4 separate regions of the Homo sapiens genome follow, and regions 2, 3 and 4 are each linked to region 1. The links are contacts of gene promoters, found by promoter capture Hi-C in human tissues and cell types (Jung and others, 2019). All regions are on one chromosome and are shown on one strand. Each heading gives the region's core, a stretch centred on a gene start or on the middle of the fragment in contact. The rest is flanking DNA. Distances are from core to core; before and after follow the strand shown. Region 1 holds the start of GNA14 (G protein subunit alpha 14). Region 2 overlaps GNAQ (G protein subunit alpha q). Region 3 overlaps GNA14 (G protein subunit alpha 14). Region 4 overlaps GNAQ (G protein subunit alpha q).

Region 1 (5,222 bases), core at 1,750-4,249:
AAATGGTGCACATCCTCCCCTAATTCCTGTCACTTCTGAGTCATTGGCTCTTCCTTGAGAAGAAATGGAGCTATGCCCCAGGACTTTACAGATTGAAATAAATCAGAGGTTTTGAAGTCCATCCTTGGAGTTCTGAACGGCTCTGTGTGGTTTAGAAACTATTTTTCACAGGAAAGTTTTCACTAAGGGGATATGCTAGTCACAACTCCGCAAGATGAAAATGGGAGTTTCCAGAGGTCAGACAGTGCCTCAAGGTGGTAGGAGGAGGGTTGGAGCAATGGCCTGGGAAGATAAAGAAGACCCTCGGGTCACCCTGATTAATGTGACTTTCAGAGCAAACAATTTACCTACAAACATTTCTCCCCTAGTTTGTGGGTAAATGCGAGAATTTTACATCAAACAGGCTTATTACCAATACAGTACAGCTCAGCTGACTACACAATTTTTCATACAAAGAGCCAGCATTTGTCAAGCTCCTGGTATATTCTGGACACTGTACTTCATACATTGACACAAATCAAAGCATTGCAAAATGAAATAGGGTTCAGCCTGCCCTTATAAAGAAAAAAGTTACATACGCAACTAAACCCCTCTGGTTTGTGGGGTTCAGGGCAAAAGTACAAAGCCCCGCACCCATAGTTATTTTCTAGTGTTAATCAAGCTAGCAAATTCTCACGTATTCCTCCTCCCTTGACAAAGGTAGCTTTATAACAGCCTAGAAGGCCAGGGACAATTTAGAATTTTCAGACTTTTCAAAGTTATGGGTCAGACACAGAAATAGCAGACCTGGCCAATGAACAGAGCCCCTTCCCTTCCCCACCCAAGCTCCCTCTCTCCTAGGGGGGCCTCTTGGGCACCCACGGGGACTCCCTCCACTCCTACCCAGCCCACATTTCCAAGCACTTTTACGCCCCAGCAAACAGCTGCCCCTTTGTGAGCTCTCCAGGGATCAGGTCTGCCTTCTTTTCTAGGGCTCAGGCCTTAGAAGCTGGTATGGGTCCCTTTGGGCTGGGTATTCATTCCATCCAGGTCTTGGGAGGGAGGGGGCAGCATGGTCTCTGGGTAGCAAGCCCCTTTGGACCTACAGACTTCCAGCTCTGTGGGGAGGGGCACACCCCCCCCCAACCCCCAGAAGGCCAGACTGGGCCCTTTAAACCCAGGGGATAAGGATAAGGGGGTTCTTCCGCCCAGGTCTGAAGGCCATACTGGCTGAGAGCCTTCTCTATATTACACTAACTAGATCAACTTTTTCTTTCCTTGAAGCTTTCTGGGAGGGTGATTCCTATACAAGGAATAAAGATGAATAAATAGATGGTATAAGAGAAGATTCCTGTTCAAAAGGGGTGAAAGAAAAAAAGTTGAAATCTTTGTGGCTATCTAGAAAAAAATTGACAGCTGATATCATGGTCTGAAAGGTAGAAAAGGTAAAATATTCCTCAAACAGCAAATGTGTTGACAGCGTTCTAGAAAGTCTGAGATGGGATCCTTGCCTCATGGCATAACTTGGGCAAACCTTAAACTGTGTTCTTTCTGTGTTTGAAAGTGGATGTCCTACCCAGACCTTTGCAGAGACACCAAAAGAGCTGGATGAAGACCTGCCAGAGGCACCAGGGCAGCCAAGCTGAATCCTAGGACGTGGACACACTGAGTCAAGCTGGGCAAGGGAGGTTTGGGTCCGCTGCAAACACAAAGGCCTGAGGGACCCCCATGGGAGGCAGGCATAGGAGCTCACGGTCAGAGGAGCAGCAACGGCATGGGCTTCACCCCCACAGCTGACCTAGCATCGGCTTTGCCTTTTCTCAATCAGGGCAAGTTGGTCAGTTCTCCAGGCCTCCATGTTTTAATTCTCTAGAATAGCGATATCACCTGCCCGCATCACCAGGTGGTGATGCCCTTAAGAACTTAGCACGATCTGGCACATGGTAAATTCTCAAGATGCTTCATCTAGAACTGAAAGCGTACGGGTCAGAGCTAGCGCTGAACCCAAGATGTGGGTCACCACAGACCCCAAGCTGGGTGTGCTGCGGGCGGAGGAGTGGACGGGGTTTTGAGGAGAGGGGCACACCGGAACACATAAGGTACAGCGGTCAAGAGGTTAAGTGTTACAGGTCCCTATCCTGTTTTGGGGCAGGGGAAGGTGTTGCTTTTGCAAGTCGCCCAGCCAGAGATGGAAAGAACAGGCACCTAAGGCCCCAAGTTGCTGGCATCCGTGAGCTCCGAGGGGGAGAAGGACGAAGCCGCCCTGCACCCCGCTGGGCTCCAGGGCCGCGCGGGTGCCAGTGGAGAGGCCGGGAGGGCTCGGAAGAAAAACGCCCGGCTCACTGGAGTCGGAGACGCAGCCACTCACCCAGCAGCAGCAGCTTAAGCTCACGGCGCGCGTCCTTCTTGTCCCGACGAAGCTGTCGCTCGATCTCCGCGCTGATGCGCTGCGACTCCTTCTCCTCCGCGGACAGGCAGCAGCAGCCGGCCATGGTGCGCTCAGCTCAGTACCCGACGGGGCGACGCGGCCCCGGGCACCCGAATCCTCGGCCCGGCCGCTCACCCGGCCAGCATGCGACGGGCACAGGGGTGTGGAAAGAAAAGACGGGGGCCGACTTGAGCTTTGGAGTAAGACGCCTGGACCTCCGAGGCTCAATCCCCCTTCGAAAGTCGGCTCTGAGGCGGGGTGAATGCCGAGCGCTGGGAACGCTCGAGTGCACCCCGGATCCGGGCTCAGCCCGCCCCACTCTCGCTCTGGGGAGGAGGAGGGCGAGTCGAGAAGTTGGGAGCGTTGCTGGCCCCGGGAAGATGCGCGCGCCCCTTGGCACAGGAGCCGGACAGCAGTCGGGGGCGCAGACGAGTTGGAACGTCGGTGCTCGGGGGAGAGTAGGATCTCCTGGGCCTAGGGGTGTCCCCAGGCGGGAGGTAGGCGCGGAGTGGGTTGGAGGCAAAGGACCTGGCTGGCCTTTGCCTGGAAAGTTCTGAAAACCTCAGCAGTGACCGCAGACTAAGACTGAGTGGAAAGGTTCCCGCTAGCGTTTGTGGCTCTAAGTGGCAGGAGGAGGCGGAGCATCTTGAACCTGCAGCCCTGGCGTCTGCTGGACTTGCCCTTCTGGGCACCCCAAGCCGAAGGCGCCTGGAAGTGAAAGGGGACGAGCAGGGGGCGCGGAGCTGGGGGTGGGAGCTGGCACCTCTAGGAGCAGCTCCCACACTTGCCTCCCTGGCTGGGGCGTCCCGGCCAAGGTTTGCTGTAATCTGCGCGTCTGGCCGCCAGGCACCGGGTTCCGACAGGTGAGTGAGTTTCGCCAACTCACTCGCTCGGAGAAGGCGGCAGCAGGCTGGAAGAGGAGCGGCGCCAAGCGTCTGTTGCGGGACACAAAGCCCCGGACCTGAAGTGGAAGCTTGCCCACCAGCTTCACCACCACGCACACCCGGATTTCCTAGACTGGCTCCTTCCGCTTCCCGGACGCCCCGGCCCAGCTCGGGCTTGGCCAAAGCCCTTGGTCAGCTCGGCAATTTGCCTGTAAAGTGTGGCTGGGCCTGAGCCTGCTGGCTCTGAGCTCGGAGAAGGAGCCGCCGCTGGGTTCAGTTATAAGAGAACTGCAAGAGCCCAGGGTAAATATCCTCTCGGTCTCCGGACGAGGGGGCTGGGGAGAAAGGGAACGGCTGATTGCTTTGCATTTTATGATGGGAAAGACACCTGCTTTGTAGAAAGGGCTGATACGTTCCTAGTAGCACCTGGCAAGTTTCCTGCCCAGCCCTGAAGCCTAACAGCCGCCTTGCGATTGTGTCCGCACTGACACCTTGGCCTGTATCCTGGACCGTCGGGGTCAAGTTTGAGCAGCATTAATAAAAACTTTAAAAGCACCTCTTAGTACTTAAGTGACACGATAAAATGCATATTACAACATCTGACTTTTGTCTGTGTAGATTTTGATGCAGAAAAGGGAAGGTGGGGAGAGGGGATCCTATTGGCCACAGCAATGAACGTTCTTTCCTTCTCAAGTCAGTATAGGCCATATGCTAATGGGGCGTTAGGCAATTAGCTAGCGCTTCCTCTACTAAGAGCAGGCATAAGTGCCTTTCATTTGAGTAGCATATATTTTATAAATTCAAACTGAGGAGCACATTGAGTGGAATGGTACGTGTCATTATATAAAGAAGTTGGTATCGCGATGCTATCTGGCTGCATGTTCTTATTATTTTACAGTTTAAGAAATGTAGAGGAATCAGACATTAAAAATGTGCATACATGCTTTAATGTGTGACTATTTTAGTTTTCTTGCAGGCATAAATTGACAGTAACAGTGACCCCTACAGGAAAACTCCTGGACATTTCAGATTTGATCTTTGGCCATTTAATAGCCTGTTTCTTCTCTCTTAGCTCTTACGGATTCATTTACAATTTGAGAATAAGATCTCTTGGCTTCTCAAAGTCATGGTTGCATCATAATTGTTATCATTTAAAAATTATAAAAAATTTTTAAATGATTAAAACTAGGGCAAATTTGAACTCTTACGTTAACGGGAATTACTGATACTGACCTATTAGGTTTAAAGTTGGCAAGATTTCAAAAACAGTTATGAAACATATTGATTAGGGCAAATCTGTACAACTTTCCTGGGCTAGTCAGCTTGGCAGTATATATCTGAAGCCTTAAACATGTCCGTCCCCTTCGGCCAAACCAGTAATTTCTCCCTTAAGAAATAACTAGAAAGAAGCCTCATGACTGATGCAAAGGTTTTATTGCCAATACAACAACAAAAACTCACAACCTAAATACCTAACAACAGGGAAGAGATCACTTAAATCATGGTTTATCCATACAATGAGATGTTTTGGAGCCATTAAATATGTGGATATGCGAGTAGTAAACATGTGAATAAATTTGGAGAAAATCCTCAAAATATATTGAATGAAAAAGGCAAGATCCAAAAATATAAAGAGTATGATAAGATTTTAGTATAAGAATACGCATACACATTTTTAAGAGACTGAAGGGACACACATCAAAAAGGTAGCTTGCTGTGAGTCATGGCTGTTTGGTTGATTTTCATTGTTCATTAGAAAATTTGGGCTGGGTGCAGTGGCTCACGTCTGTAATCCCAGCACTTTGGGAGGCCGAGGCGGGCAGATCACCTGAGGTTGGGAGTTCGAGACCAGCCAGCCTGACCAACATGGAGAAACCCCATCTCTACTAAAAATACAAAATTAGTTGGGTGTGGTGGCACATGCCTGTAAT
Region 2 (5,222 bases), core at 1,366-3,865, 130 kb after region 1:
ACATAACCTGAATGCAAGCTCTTTTAAATTCTATGCTATCTCTTTCCTTTTAGTAAGTTGACAGTCTATTTAAGGGATGTGGGGGCCATAAGGGGATGGGAGAAGTGGGGCATATATTAAACTATAAGTTTGGGCTGCCATGGATTCAATGATTAGTTCTGAATGCCCTCATTGGGCACATCAGCCTGGTACCACTGGGGAAGTGAGGCAGGAAATCAGCTGCTAATTAGAGTATATATTAACATGCTGCAAATTAATCAGGAAGAGCACGTTTAGTGTCATTTTCTAAAAGAGAATTAAAATTAAGAGGCATCAGGTGAAACTAAATTTAACAGAAAATGAGAGATATATTCCTCCTGTTAAGTATCACGTGCTCTGTGAGCACAGGCGAAGACAAGGATGTCTGCAGCTCTCTGGGTATGGGAAAAAAATGATTCTGGACTACCAATCTCTCATTTTAGTGTTTAGTGGACAGGACTGGCTACAGAATCTGCAGGTCCCAGTGCAAAATAAAAATGTGGGGTCCTTGTTTAAGATGGCCACAGACAGAAGAGTATTAAACCAAGTGCAGGGCCCTGTGGAACTGCATGAGGTTGCATGTCTGTGAAGCTGGCCCTGTTAGTGGAAGAAATGTTGCATACTGAAACATACAAATTGAGCTGAATTTATGGCTATGGTTGTTTCTGAAAATTACTTTACCTTAAATTGTGTCACAGAAAGGGGGAAAAACAGCAACCACCCACCTGGACTCTCCAATCAAAAACAACAAAAAAAAACCCACCCTGGAAGGCTGAGGAGCCAGCTAATTCCCATCTGCTGCTGTGTGCCACTCTGCATTCACCCTTCCGCCCAATGCCTGGACTGGAGTGAAGAATAAGATCCTAGTAGCAAGCAGATTACCTTCCCATTGACAACAGTAGTTTACAATTGAAGAGCACTGTACGGTGTAGACCTGTAAACTTTAAAAATTATGACCCATATTAACAACTATGTTTTATATTGTACCTAGTCCCCCAACCCACACACATGTAAATATAATGGAAACGAAAGTTTCATGAAACAATAATTCACCTGACTGTGATATCCTTTAACATTTTCTATTCAATTTCATTTAAATGTATTTATTTCACTTTTTTAAAGATGCTGCTCATGACCCCATCATATGGAATTCACTGCCCAATAATGGTCCCAATTCACTGCTGTGCGGAAACTCCCAGGTTGGAAAAGATTGGTACCTGGCCATTGTTTTTCTCCACCAAGTGTGCTCTGCTCCCTGCCCCCAATCTTCCTGGAATACATTCTGCCTCTGACCACTGGGGTCAATATTAATTTACACTGAGACAAACCTAGTACTACATCCCCTTTCGGTGGGATTTTCCATTTTGGAGTGGAATAGAAACTCCCTTTTCTCTTGGGTTGCAAGGCTGAGCAGGTACAATTCAGGACTGTTTGAGGAGAAACAAAACAAAAATCAGAAGAGAGAAAGAGATTCCCAACCAAACTCCTGGTTCAAGGTACTAATAAAGCATCTTCACCCTGGTTCTTCCTGGTTACGTCAGCTAGTCTGTGAGAATTTTTGTCTTTTTTCAACAACAAAGCCATGACTAATACAAACACTGTAATAGAACATGTAAACAGATAACAAATATATGTTATAGATCAAGGGTGTCCAATCTCTTGACTTCCCTGGGCCACAATGGAAGAGAAGGAACTGTCTTGGGCCACATGTAAAATACGCTAATGCTAAAGATAGCTGATGAGCTAAACAAAAACAAAAAAACCACAGAAACACGCCAAAAAAAATCTCATGTTTTAAGAAAGTTTACAAATTTGTGTTGGGCTGCATTCAAAGCCGTCCTGGGCCACGTGAGGCCCACAGGCTATGGGTTGGACAAGCTTGTTATAAATATTAGTAGCTGTATCTTAAAAATATTGTTTTCAGTCCCTTTTTTTGGGCATGTTAAACCTTTTCATTCTCTTATTGTAAAAGAAATTTTCTTAAACCAAAGCTTCTTTATTTTTCAGCACTTACACAAATAATACTTTTCCCCATATTTTAATCTTATTTAACAAATAATGATTAAGCTTATGACTCTGGCTGTGAGGCATAAATGTCAAATCAAAGAGTTCTCTTAAGACAGAATTAGCCATAGATGATAATGTTTCCAAATGAAAGTTATAACACTAACTTAGCACCAACAGTAATAACAGTACCTTAAAATTGATAGTATGAACTATAATTTACTGAACATCTGTGTGTTCCAGGAAGTTTGTATGTTATCTATTTTAATAATCCTCACAGCGCTTTAAGAGTAATGATATCCTCATTCTTCACATTATGAGGGAGGCACAGTGATATTAACTTGTGCAAGATTAACCAGCCTGAAATGAGTGAAGCTGTGATTTAATCCAAGATAGTCTGATTCTATTTCCCTGTTGTCTCTTCAGGGACTGCCTTGGATTTGTACCTCACAGTTGACTAATGTTCCACAAAAGACACTACACTTTTTTCTTGTTCCCATTTTAAAGTGACGATTCACATTATATTCATTGGCAATTCAAAAATATGCTGCTTTTCTTCATAGGTTCCCGTGTGAAAACATGTTAGAGATGTTACTGTAGGAGATTTAACTGAGGCAGAATAAGACCTGAAGAATGGCACATATATTATACTGCCCCTGGATCTTAATCTAGGCTCTCTGAAGAACATTTCACGAAATCCAGACCCTTTATTAATTATTGAGCTTGGTGTCCCAACCAAAGTGATATTATAGAATAACAAAGCCACAGCAAATGATTTAAAGTTTTATAAAATGTAGGTTCCCTGCTAAAAGACAAATTCTTCTTCTTCTTTTTTTTTTTTAAAAAGGAAGACTCAGATGGTACTCAAGAAAGACCTCAGCTGGTTAAATTTGGCCACCAAAGTGGTCCACATTCCTCTGGCTTTGAGACCACAGCATTTTCATTTGATTATCTACATTGTAGAGCATATAGTTATTTTAAGCTTTACACTCTCTGCATTTGTTCCATCTAAGATGAAGGAACAAGTGTGGAGATAAATCTTGGTGTCATAAAACTATCTCCTTTATTTCAATGAACTCTTTAATTTGTATTACTTCTAAAAGATGTATCAGTTTTGAAGATATTTTCAATAAATTGACAGAAAATGGATGTTAGAACTAATACTGCTACGTTTGCTAAGCTTCTCGGACCAGACATTTGTACTTAATTTCTCCATTTGCTTGTAACTGCATCTTATCTTTCTGAAACCAATCAGAAAAAGAGAAAGCTGCCTAAAATGCCTTTTAAAAAAATAAAAGAAAAGAAAAAATAGAGAGACAGGTTCTTGCTCTGTCACCCAGGCTGGAGTGTAGTGGCACAATCATAGCTCACTGCAGCCTCAAACTCCTGGGCTCAAGTGACCCTCTGGCTTTGGCCTCCCTAGTAGCTAAGACTACAGGTGTGTACCACATGCCCAGCAAATTTCTTTATATTTTTTGTAGAGACAGGGTCTCACTCTGTTGTCCAGGTTGGACTCCAACTCCTAGCCTGAAGTCATCTTTCTGCCTTGGCCTCCAAAAGTGCTGGCATTACAGGTTTGAGCCACCATGCCCAGCTCAGCTTACTTTTATTTTATTAGATTTTAATCTTTAAGATTTCTTATCTTTTAAGATAATCATTATTTCTTTAATCCATGTAAAATGGATTGTTCATGTAAAAATTTAAAAATGCAGGTAAGTAAAATAAATAAAACATAAAAACAAAATGACCTTTACCCCAACTATTCAGAAATAATCCCTGCTAACAGTCTGAATTAATCTTCCAGGCATATATGTATGCACCTATAATAAATATCTGTATTATATGTCTTTAAAAATCAGATGCATGCTGTACGTGCTGTTTTGAAATTATTTACATCAATATATCATGAGCGACTTTCTGTCCAATATTAATTATACATCTATATTACCATTTTTAGCATCTGCATAGTATTTTATTTTTTAGGTGTACTCTGAATTTGTTAATCGATTTCCTACAATTGGATAATTTAATTATTTTCATTGTTAACAACTTTGAGCAATGTTGTCTTTGGGACATGTAACCTACTAACTACAATTAGCAATAACATTTCTACCAGTGGCATTACTGGATCAAAGGGTATAAACACCTCAAAAGATTTTATATATTGTCATACTACTGGCAGATTGTACCAATTTATCCTCCTATTAACAGTATCTAAGAATGTTCACTTCTCCTCATCTCTCTTTTTTTTTTTTTTTTTTGAGACAGAGTCTCGCTCTATCACCCAGGCTGGAGTACAGTGGCGTGATATCAGCTCACTGCAAGCTCTGCCTCCCGGGTTCACGCCATTCTCCTGCCTCAGCCTCCCGAGTAGCTGGGACTATAGGCGCCCGCCACCACGCCCAGCTAAATTTTTTTTTGTATTTTTAGTAGAGACGGGGTTTCACCATGGTCTCGATCTCTTGACGTGATCAGCCTGCCTCGGCCTCCCAAAGTGCTGGGATTACAGGCATGAGCCACCACGCCCAGCCTCCTCATCTCTCTTTTTATCTTTGCCATTCTAGCAAGTAAAAAGGCACTTTCACTCATCAATTGTGTTTCCGTAATTATGGCATGCTGAGATTTACTTTTAAAATTCAGTTTAGATACTTGGGGCGCTGAGGCACAAGAATCACTTGAACCCAGCAGATGGAACCTGCAGTGAGCCGAGAATGTGCCACTGCACTCCAACCTGGGTGACAGAGCACGACTCTGTATCAAACAAATAAAAAATAAAAGAAAAGAAAAAGAAAAAAATTCAATTTAGAGACAAACTTATGGAATGGTGGAATAAGGACCTCTAAAAATCTATCTTTCCACAAAAGTGGCAAAAATTGTCAATATCAACTTTTTCAGATATCTGGAAATTAACCACAGGCTTGCAACAACATAACATTTATTCAAGAAAAACAGCTGAATCTAGGTGACAATAGCTTGTTTTGTGCAACTTGTGTTCCTCCCATCTCCCTTTTCCAGCTCTGCAATAGCCTAGAAAACCAACAGCTTCTCAGCCACAGTAGCTGTGAAAACCAAAAGTAACATATTAAATGTAAATGAACTAAATACGTTAGTCAATAGACAGAGATAGGCAAAATGAATTAGAAAATGACCAAACTACATGCTGGCTACAAGAGACACAATTTAGATTAAAAGACACATTG
Region 3 (5,222 bases), core at 1,211-3,710, 96 kb before region 1:
AGGGACCGTGCCTATTTGTAGCCCATGTCCTCTCCCCAGCTTCACATCCTCGTTGCAAGCGCTTGGGACTCTATAATTTTCTCCACCCAAATGATCCCAAACCCACTTCTAGGGCTTGCATGGGCCCTCCCCAGTCCATCGTCTTGGGGGTGAACATGTCACTGGTGTACATGTCACTAAATCTGAAGGTAGCCAGGGGACAGATGTTTGCAAGGGGGTGTTGACAAAGCCTGGATGTTCTAGCCAGGGTGCACATAAAGTCTTTTGCACTGTGGGTGGGAGGGGGTAGAGAGAAGGGAACACCAGCCAGGGGTTTCCATTGGTAACCCTGTCTGTGCCCTGCAAATGTACGGTGCCTCCCTGGCTCAACATGCACTCAGGGGTTGAAGCAGTAACTATCAATGGCAATATTTTCTCATTTCCAACTTTTATCCAGGATATGCTCTTTCAGCCTCGGTATATTTTGGTATAGATCTACTCAGTAAAGAAAGATCTCACTTCGATTTGTTTGCTAAAAGAATGGTAGACTAAATACAGAGAAAGCCTTCACCTTCACCCAGAGTTTTTAAGAAGTGAAAGAAACTTTGCAAGCATGTACAATTGGTACATATTATTAGCTAAAGGTGCTAAGATTCCTCTGAGTTAGCCAGTTTCTGGAGCAGATATAATACCCAGGACAATTGGGAGTAATGTCATGTGGTCACATACATATCAATATCCACCCTGAAATACCATCGCAGTGCACATCTAGGTTCAAAACACACTCATTATCATAAAATACAGTCAAGTTAGGAGCTACAGCATGAAATCAATTCAACAATACTAATTAAAAGTACATTTAAACTATCTTCAAAGCAGCTGTTAAATCTCACTTTATCTATTCTATAATCCAACCATTGTTTACACATGGAAGTTCAAAGAGAATCAAATGGGAGGTGGAAATGAGATGGGCTTGACAAGGCTTTGTTAAGGTCAGGTTGTCCACAGGGGCAACAAAATTATTCACAGGGTAAAGTGTGCAAATTAAGATGGTCACCTTCGTATTCACTCTCACACACTGGAAATTTAGCTACGCTAGGTCTCAAAATCAGACATCAGATTTTTCCTTACTGTTATGCTATTGTGGGCCCAGTTCCTGTTTTAAATTCAGTATGGAATTGAAAATACAACTCTGATTTTCCTGATGAGGAATATCTTCAGGCAGTCTGCTTGGTCTTCCCCTACCCCTGCCCTCAAAACATACATTGCTGAATTGTTTTCCATCATAGGTTGAAAGGGAAAATTTTCAACCTTTTTGGCAGATTAGCTGAAAATTTTCATTATACTTTATACAGAATGTATGTGCCTGCAAATCAACAAGCAATGCAAATCAAGCATCTTTGGCTAGCATGCTTTGACACAGTTTGATATATTATACATTCTTTAGCTGTTCTTTTCCTCCTCTCCCTCCTCATCCTTTTTCAAATTTTGAATCTTCAATTTCTACTCATCTACTAATGCTGACAACTCAAACTCTGTCCTGCAGATAAGCAGGGTCTTTAGACTTCCTTTATGTGGTCAACCACTGGCATAAACTCATCCCCATCCACGCCAGCCTGCCCCTTGGCCACCATGAAGTACATCTTGCAGCAGGCACAAAACTAGTCAAGGGACTAGAAAAAGCAGGACCTCATCATATACATGCGCAGACACTCACCCACCCCCCCTTCAAGTGACCCCAAATCACTAGGTCATCAAGTTCTGAAGCTGCCTCCAGACTGAAGCTGAAGCCCTCTTTCATGGGACCCTTCCCTGCTCCTAAAGTCTGGTCAATTCCAGCCCCTAGGAAGAAATATAGTGAAAAATAGGAAGGATTATTCTCCTACTAGATCTGAGCAGCATCTTTGGGCAACAAGAAACAATAAGAAAAAGAGTTAGGGCCATGTTCTTTGCTTTTTTTAAAAAAAAATCCTTTTCATTCTTCATGGCTCATTTGGTAGAAATCATCTTCAGTGATTTTAGAAGGCCAGTATTTGCAAATACAGCCTTAATATAAAGAAATTTGGCCAGGCGCGGTAGCTCATGCCTGTAATCCCAGTACTTTGGGAGGCCGAGTCAGGCGGATCACCTGAGGTCAGGAGTTCGAGACCAGCCTGGCCAACGTGGTGAAATCCTGTCTCTATTAAAAATACCAAAATTAGCCAGGTGTGGTGGTGGGCACTGGTAATCCCAGCTATTTGGGAGGCTGAGGCAGGAGAATCACTTGAACCCGGGAGGCAGAGGTTGCAGTGAGCCAAGATCAAGCCTTTGCAGCAGGAGAGAAACTCCATCTCAAAAAAAAAAAAAAAAAAAAGAAAAAGAAAGAAAGAAATTCAACACAAACAATCAATTATTCCCAAAAGTTCTAAAATAAAATTGAATCTATAATATCCAGATTCTGGGGGATTATTTGTTTGGTTTTTCTTTTGGTGGGGAGTTGGTGGTGAAAAGTGAAGGACAGTGGAGGCTTTGAGAGGCTGAGAGATGAACAAATCTGAGAAAATAATCTGGAAATGAAAATAATGAGAGATAACATGCTCCGAGCATTTCTTGGGTTTTTATAGCTTTGGTTTCTGGAAAGAATGGATTTGCTGATGAGCTTTCCTAACAGAATTGAAAACTGAAACTTTTCTTGGTCCTACATTCTGTGATATGTCCCAAGTTACACCAACTGGTGAATTTGATTCTCATTTTTGTTATGATATATTATTTATAACAATTGCATTCTGCTCTTTTAAGAATTTCAAGATCACCTCACCAAGAATGATTACTCTGACATAATAAAGGAAACAAATGTTACCAAAGACCCAATTCACTCAGCAAGGGAGCAAGGGCAACCTCTTCCAGAAGGACCTACCGTTGTAGCCTTCACAACATCAGAGAAACAAGGATAAATTTTAATATCATTATTATTTCACCTTAGTTTCTTTTTAATGCCCAAGCATTTTTGGGTTCTTATAGCCAAATACAATTAGTGCTATTAAGCATCTTAATTGAAATGCCCATAACTATCAGATTCTAACTTATTTTCCATCCAGCGTTAAGCAGCAGAAACTGTGCCAACCAACAGAACACTGTACTGCAGGCTGCCAGGAGAAAAGTGAACATAACTCAATGAGGGTTTTCTGAAAACTGCATCTACTGCATCATCATGACAATATGAATGAGGATCACTCCATTTACCTAATGGTGACATGACCTGCTGGAAAAACACATCCCAGGAAAAAAGGCACATCAAAGTCCCAAACTAGCCTTATGGAAGCTAATTATTCTCATATGTCTCTCAGAGGAGCTTCATAAATATTGATCATTCATGGAAGGGTGAAATCTCAATAATTAGCCTTGTTCTTTTCTACTCCCCCAGCCCAGTTCTTGGATATACCCGGGCTCCTTCCTTAGTACCTCTCCCTAAGACTATGCAAGAGACAGGGAGAGAGTAAGGGAAGGAATGTTTATGGAGAAACCATGTGTGGCAGGCACTACACTACACCTACCATCTTCATAAATGGCATCTCAGAGTAGTGCTGGGACTAGATCTTAACCACATGGAAACAAGATCAGACCTATATGGCACATCAAAATCAATCCCAGGTGAGTCAATGATTTATATGCAAAAAACTTCAATGATCAGTTTTTTTTAAAACAGCACCAATAGAAAAAAAAAGCAGGGAAAGTACATAAAGGCAATTCACAAGAAGAGAATACAAGTAGGCATATGAAAACTATTTGGCCTCATTATCATGGAGTGCAAATGAAAATCATGCCATACCATATTTTGTTTGCAAGAGGGGCAAATTGACAAAAAAAATCCAGTGTTAATGGGCATATGAGAAAACAGACACCCATTCCCACTTATTTGTGTGCACAGCAAGATGAAGAATTATATGACAGCTTGCATCACCATCATTCAAAGTGGGATGTTATGTCACCCAAAAATTCCAATTCTAGGATATATAATCTAAAGAAATCATTGGACAAGTGGCCAAATACCTATGTAATGGGAAAGTAATCACAGTGTGATCCACAATAACAAAAATGAGAAAAAAAATAAATGCGTAGTGATAGGAGACCAATTAGTTATGTTGACTCTCCACAATGGAAATATATGGCTGAGAAAATCAATGCAGATGAATATTTACTGACATGAAATGCCGTCTACAGTACAGTAAATGAGAAAGTAATGAATAAAACCTACTAGGCCAGGAGGGAGTACAGTAAAGGTTAAGAGGGGTACCTGTGCTCAAATTCCAAGTCTGCCACTTACCTGCTGCCTCACCATGAACAGGCTCTCAATTGGCCTCATCTGGGAAACGGGAATGGTAACACTGCAAGCACTCAGCCAGTGCTCAGCCCACAGCAAGCCTTTAAAAGTGTCTCTGTTACTTTCAGGTGAAGATGATTTGGATTATTTTTAAGCTTGCACACACATATACACACATCTGTAAGTTGGAATTATAGTCACCAAAACTTAATGGTGGTAATCACTGGGTGGTAGGCGAACAGTGTTTCATTATTTATGCACAAGAAAGTAAACACAATTCTATCCCCTCTTGGTTATGAGCATGTCATGCCTATTAGTTGTCAAAGTTCAAACCTAAGAATTTTTGTTAAAAGTTTTTTTAAAGTTTTAGTATCAGTTTGACTGTTAGCAAGAACAGGGATGCTGTCTGTTCTGTTTCCTCTCATTTTCAATGCGAGGGATTCATATTCTGTTGGCTATTTTGATACTAAAGTCATCCACTTTATATAAATTTAAAAATACTATTAATACTTCATCCAAACAATTTTGGATCCCCAAGATAACTGTGTCAAAACATTCTCTGACAAAGGTCTATGTTTATAAAAATGAAGAACTGAGCTGCACTGTAATTCCTTTCTAAATCTTCAGAAAAACATCTCCTGTCTGCTCCAAATTGCTCACAGACATGGAGTTTATTACCCTGTGCTGGAAGCCAAATGGGGATCTCATTTCTACTGTGACAATTAAAGACAAAATCCTGTGCTAGAATTGCATGTTTTTGTGGCTGAGTTTTCTTTTTTTAAATGCAAATGTAAAAATGATACTTTTCCTCCATCTGACTAGCAAAAACTAAAGTCAGATAACAAAACGTTGGTGGATGTGTGAGGAAACAGAAAGTTCCATGCATTGCCGTTGGAACAATAAGTTAGTGCAGATGCTTTGAAGAGAATTTGGCAGTATTTTT
Region 4 (5,222 bases), core at 869-3,368, 67 kb after region 1:
TAATTAGGTATTCTTTCCTAGATTAAGGCAGAGTTTTGAAAAGAGCGGTGAGAGAACAGTTTTTTAAAAAAGAAAACGTGAGCTGTGGATTTTATGATACTTTTAGTCTCAATCATGTCAATATGAAGAATTACCTTCCATGAGATAAAATGCTTATAACCATAGGGATAAGCAAGCCTCACTGTATAGATGTGCGGATATTTGTACACGTGTATCTGTGTACACAGCGTCAAGATAAAACCATTTTGAGATTTTACATGTGTACCCACGTATGTGTAGAGACTATGTTTTTAAAAATATTAGGATTGATTTTACCCAATTGACATAAACATTTGTGTGGGGTTTTCCTCTTTATTCAGCAATGATTGAGTTGGTTGGAGATGCTGAGACATTAAACACACACACACACACACGCACACGCACACACACGTATTAGTTAAATTTGCTACCCAAACTGATTCCTTTTGAGTTTAAATATTTTGTATTTCCAGCAGAGCCGCCACTTGTCAGAGCCCATCATGGGTATGGGGCCAGTTTGCTTTTTGGTCATTGGGTCTGAGTCACAGGGGAGGGAATGCATATGTTTCTGGTGCAGTAAGCCAGGGTGGTCTTTCCTGCTGACACTCTCCAGGTTTACAGAAAGGCATCACCTAAAGCACCTGAGGATGGCATGCAGGGCACTTTGAGAGCCAGGTGTCAGCATCTCTTCTCAACTCCAAGTTCAGTGACAAAAGCAAGCTGGTCCCTTTTGCTAAGACTGCTCAGATTCCTAGAATATAACCATTGATGCTATAACCCCTGACATGGCACCTGTACTTCAGGCATGACTGGCTGGTGCCCTGACTGGACAGTAGGTTGGCAGGCAGTGCCAGGATTCCTAACAGATATGCCCTCCTAGGTGAGGTCTGCCTCAGGGCAGACACAGTCTTAGCAGCAGCTACGTTAGCGTCCTGGCAGCTGGACACAGTGTGGAATCTCCATTTGCAGACCTTGTCTCTTCCTGGTCCTTTTAAGATGCTTTTAAGACCCAACATAAAAGCACACGGAGCAAACTGGAAACAGATGGAGAGTCCCCAGGGCCCTTTAAGCAGTCTATCTCTGTGGGACAGGCCTAGTCTCCTGAGTTGCAAAAACATCTCTAGGGCTACGAAAGGGCTGAAACCTGGGAGCCCTGCCTTCCAGCTCTCTGTTAGTATGGTTCAGTGTGATTACTCTTAATTAAAGAGGGTAAGTTGCCTTATTTTATCCACAGGCTTATGAGACAGAAAAATATTCTGGCCTTTGCATTCTTGAGGAAAACAGGAAGAGAGAAAAATCAACAGAGATCAAATTCCAATAGTCTTGAGGCATAAGAATTCAAAGGGAAAATAATCTTTTCAGTACTCTCTATGCATCTTAGATTTTAAAGAGACCTACATTTTATAACCAGGGTCTTGTTTTGCAGGAATCTACGGGACTCCCTTAAAACAGACTGGATATAGCTCCTTGTAATAGCTGGATCCATGTTTTAGTCAGCCATGACAATGAAACAAAAAAAAATAACGATAATGCGTAATTTAAAACAAATCAGCCAGAAAGCCACTTCTAACCACTGCCTTTCACTCTCCACCCCTGATCAAATTTCAATAAGAGCTTCAAATATGGAGAAACTCATGAGTATGATAATCATTTGAAATTAGACAAAAAAGCAAGAAACTGGCTAGTTTACCATCTGAAATTGCTCTGCACACATTATGCAGTGTACCTGGTTGTTCCTTAGCATCAAGTTCCACCTTTTTGCTATGGCTTAATTGTCTCTCAAGAGGCAGGACTCAGGGCATCACAACCTGAGAGAAAAATGTGAGAAGGCAGGAAAGATGGGGAGTAAAGCAGAGAAGCTTTCAAGCCAACTGTTTTGTTACCATTTCCAGAAAGACAGGACAGAAGACAATCTGATGGCATAGGCTTGCTCTATGAGCCAAAAGGTCAAGTTAAATATTTGGCCCAATGACTGTTTAGTGAGTTTGTGTTTTTTCCTCTGGGTGGGGGTCTTTGGAATGATGGTACAAATAGATCATGGTCCTAAAGGGGTCAAACTCAGGTTAGAAGGCCAAAGAGAGGGGAGTGCTCCTGTATAGCTTAACACTCCAGTGTCTCTGCAGAACTAGGGTGTGGGAACCATCACTCCAGGCCTGTGCTAGATGACAGTCAGTGCCACGCCATTCCTTGAACAGTTAAGACAGAGAGAGAGAATACCATCTACTGGAAATGGTCTCTAAATCACACAAGGAGAGCTGAAGGCCTTTAAGCAAAAATGACACTCTCATCTCTTAGTATTTAGAGGGGACATATTCTGAAAAACAAAAATCCATAAGCAAGGGCTGGCTGCCAGTTGGAGTAACAGGAACAGGTTTTGCTTTTGCTGTGGCTTAAAGTCCCCACAAAAGTACCTATTTTCCAGAAAGCCACTTGCCACCATCACCTCCACTTAATAAAACTCCCAGGAGCAGCTGATTTTTAGCTGACCTCAAAAGCCTGGATGTGTTTCTAAAACTCAGAGAGGACACCTGTGACATGTCATTTTTCCCATGTGGAGTCTACCTATTCACTGCCAGTGTTGAAATGGGCAAAACTCTTAAGCCAGCCATTGGCCTGAGTCCAGTGTGCTACCCAGTAAACCAGGGCAGATGTGTGGATTCTTTTTACTGATTGGGAGACTGCCTCAGGTTGAAGATTGCTGGCTCCTTTCTTTATTGGATAGGTATTTACTTTTTTTTTTAACCAGTTAATTATAACCTAAATTAAGGCAAGTTTTTTCAAAGAGCAAATTTGATAAATGCTACCAATATGTGTATTTCCACTACAGGAGACTCTTATTTCTGATTATACACAGAAGGGAAAAGGTTTTTTGGTGTTTTTTTTTTTTTGAAACCATTAAACTTGTTTATTTTGGAAAATGCAATATGCACAAGGTGTGTTAAGGAAGGAAAGATGTATTTCAGTACTCCTACTAATACAAAACATTCTGAGAGGGGCTCGGGCAACTTTAATGGAAGCAAAACTCAACAATGAAGAATACTATAGTACAAAATTATGGCCAAAAATACTGTATTTTTAACCAGCAAGATCATTGGGGCATTATTATACAACATTAGGTGTTTTTTGCAAAACTAGTTCCCATCCCCAAACAATAGACAGTACATGCATTTGAATGACATTTTAGGAACAGTAAATATTCTTTTAAATACTGCAAGTTAAAAATGTTTTCTGACAAAACTCCCTAAATACATAGGTCTAGTAAGGGTTTCCAACAGGATGATGGGTGAGGAATCCAGCAAGGAGTTGCATTTAGAGAGTTCTTTGAGGAAAAGAAATCCACCAAAAACGTGTTTCAGTCAAAGTAACCTGGACAAAGTTACGTAGTATTATTCCAGCTTTCTTTCCTGAACTTAAAAATGTTCTACCAACGAATACCTTTCTGTTTTTTCTGTCTACCAAAAGCTTATATAAAAGTCAGAATTTCTTTATCCAAGATCTGATTTTACCCAATAGATGTTTTCATAACATGTAAATGTCATTTGCTATATTGGGTTGGAATCATACGGGGAAATGGAGGACACAGGGTAGATAAGGAAGGCAAGGAGGAAATTAATATTTGAGCACCTACTATGTGCTAGGTGTGTATTCATACTTTGAACATATGATTCTAGAGGCAAGAGTGTTATTGAAAGGGCAGTGATCATTGGGAAGACAGCAGGAAATGGCTATTCTGTGAGAAAAACAAATGACAAGTTTAGGGTCTGTACTAAGTTATCTACTAAACAGCAGGTGTCTGGCTCCAAAAATCTCTAGCTAATCATATACAACTAAGCCATTTCTTTTCCTAATTTGATGGAACCAAAATGAAATCCCAAAGACACAGTTACCAGGACAGATCTATTAACGCTACATATGCTGGAAATATGTAGAGATAGATAAACATACAATATTACTAGTTTTATTTTTTTGTGTTTCTAACCAAAGATATATCTTTGGAAGAAAATATTAATGTATACCAAGCACACCTTATTTGTATCAATTGAGATGTTGATTACCAATTAAGTGGTTTTAAACCCTTATTTAATTTGAAGAAGAGCAGCAATATACATTACAATATTTGGGTACACTTTATTTTTATATGGGTTAACATTCTGCTATATTTCATTTCATTCGTTTTGAGAAACTGAAAACAAAGGGAAATCAAGGGTAATCGGTAGGTGATTTGAGGGAAATTTCCAACCAATATGTGAGTCTTGCAGTATTTCATTATACAGCCCTTTCTTCCCATTATTTATTTTTTTGCAAATAAGTCATTTTGACCCAAATCCAGCATAAATAGCTTTTCACCAATTCCTAACTTAAGACAACTAAAATTTACAATCATGTGGCAGTATAAATTTTAAAATTACAGTTCGTACACTTTGACAATCAAGATAGTCTGAAGTACAAAAAAGTAAATTGCCCTTTAGCTGAATTACCTTTTTAAAATAGGCCTGCTAGTTAATCTACCAAAAAAAAAAAAATACAAGTTTTACGTGTTCTTCAGATTCCTTTTGTAGTTGTCATCTGCTAGTAAACAACATATGCAGGTTCTTAAAATTTTTTTTTCCAGTCTATTCATGACATTCAACAGAGCTCTTTATATGGAAATGTTAAAAACAAAAACTTCTAGGAGATTTATTTACTTTTGAATGGGTGTGTTATTTCCCTTTGTTTCAGATATGAGGCACAAACTTCTGAATTTAAGCTCTGTAAGGCATAGTAGAAACTTCCAATTTACAAATAAGGAATTCTCTGGGGGTTAGAACTGCCATGTCACGCAAAAAGGGAAAAATCATCTGTAAACTGGTACACTGCAATGTGTTAAGTGAGTCATGAAATGGCTGCTTGCCTTGGTATGCTGAAGAAAGGTTTCTGTGTTTTATGTTTTTGTTTTTGAATAAGACATGCCCAAGTCACCATAAAACTCACCACAGGCCTCCATTACCTAAGCATCAACAATAGGAGGCCAGTGGCACACGCTTATAACGCTTGCAATCACAATATAATATAAAGCATGAGTAAACTTTGTTTTTATACAAAACTGAAAAGAATCCCGTCCCGCCCCTAGCCCCTTCAATAAAACCCCGAAGAAACAAAAAAGAAAATCCTTTAGCTTCGATTGACTGGTGTGGCTAAAATTAGGTTTCTATGCATCACTGCTG

Evidence for each region. The method cuts DNA at HindIII sites, captures the fragments that hold promoters and counts their contacts. A contact is called where the count stands out against the background at its distance.
Region 2: a fragment that was not itself captured here is called in contact with the fragment with the promoter of GNA14 in region 1 in 3 of the 25 tissues and cell types used here (bladder, hippocampus and lymphoblastoid cells).
Region 3: a fragment that was not itself captured here is called in contact with the fragment with the promoter of GNA14 in region 1 in 2 of the 25 tissues and cell types used here (H1 embryonic stem cells and dorsolateral prefrontal cortex).
Region 4: a contact is called between a fragment that was not itself captured here and the fragment with the promoter of GNA14 in region 1, in 4 of the 25 tissues and cell types used here (H1 embryonic stem cells, bladder, dorsolateral prefrontal cortex and 1 more).

Annotation. Positions count from the first base shown.
Region 1 is chr9:77,645,323-77,650,544 of GRCh38, forward strand. GNA14 (G protein subunit alpha 14) reads right to left here and starts at 3,000. Exons shown (of 7, transcript NM_004297.4): 1 at 2,348-3,000. The coding sequence starts at 2,471. The HindIII fragment of the contact is 8,690 bases long and covers 1-5,222 here.
Region 2 is chr9:77,771,145-77,776,366 of GRCh38, forward strand. All of the region lies in intron 5 of GNAQ (G protein subunit alpha q), which reads right to left. Among named protein-coding and RNA genes, the nearest start is that of GNA14, 130 kb to the left of the region's middle. The HindIII fragment of the contact is 3,819 bases long and covers 707-4,525 here.
Region 3 is chr9:77,549,815-77,555,036 of GRCh38, forward strand. The region is part of intron 1 of GNA14 (G protein subunit alpha 14); the gene reads right to left. Among named protein-coding and RNA genes, the nearest start is that of GNA14, 96 kb to the right of the region's middle. The HindIII fragment of the contact is 6,386 bases long and covers 1-5,222 here.
Region 4 is chr9:77,713,204-77,718,425 of GRCh38, forward strand. It overlaps GNAQ (G protein subunit alpha q), which reads right to left. Exons shown (of 7, transcript NM_002072.5): 7 at 2,894-5,222. Among named protein-coding and RNA genes, the nearest start is that of GNA14, 67 kb to the left of the region's middle. The HindIII fragment of the contact is 4,626 bases long and covers 1-4,431 here.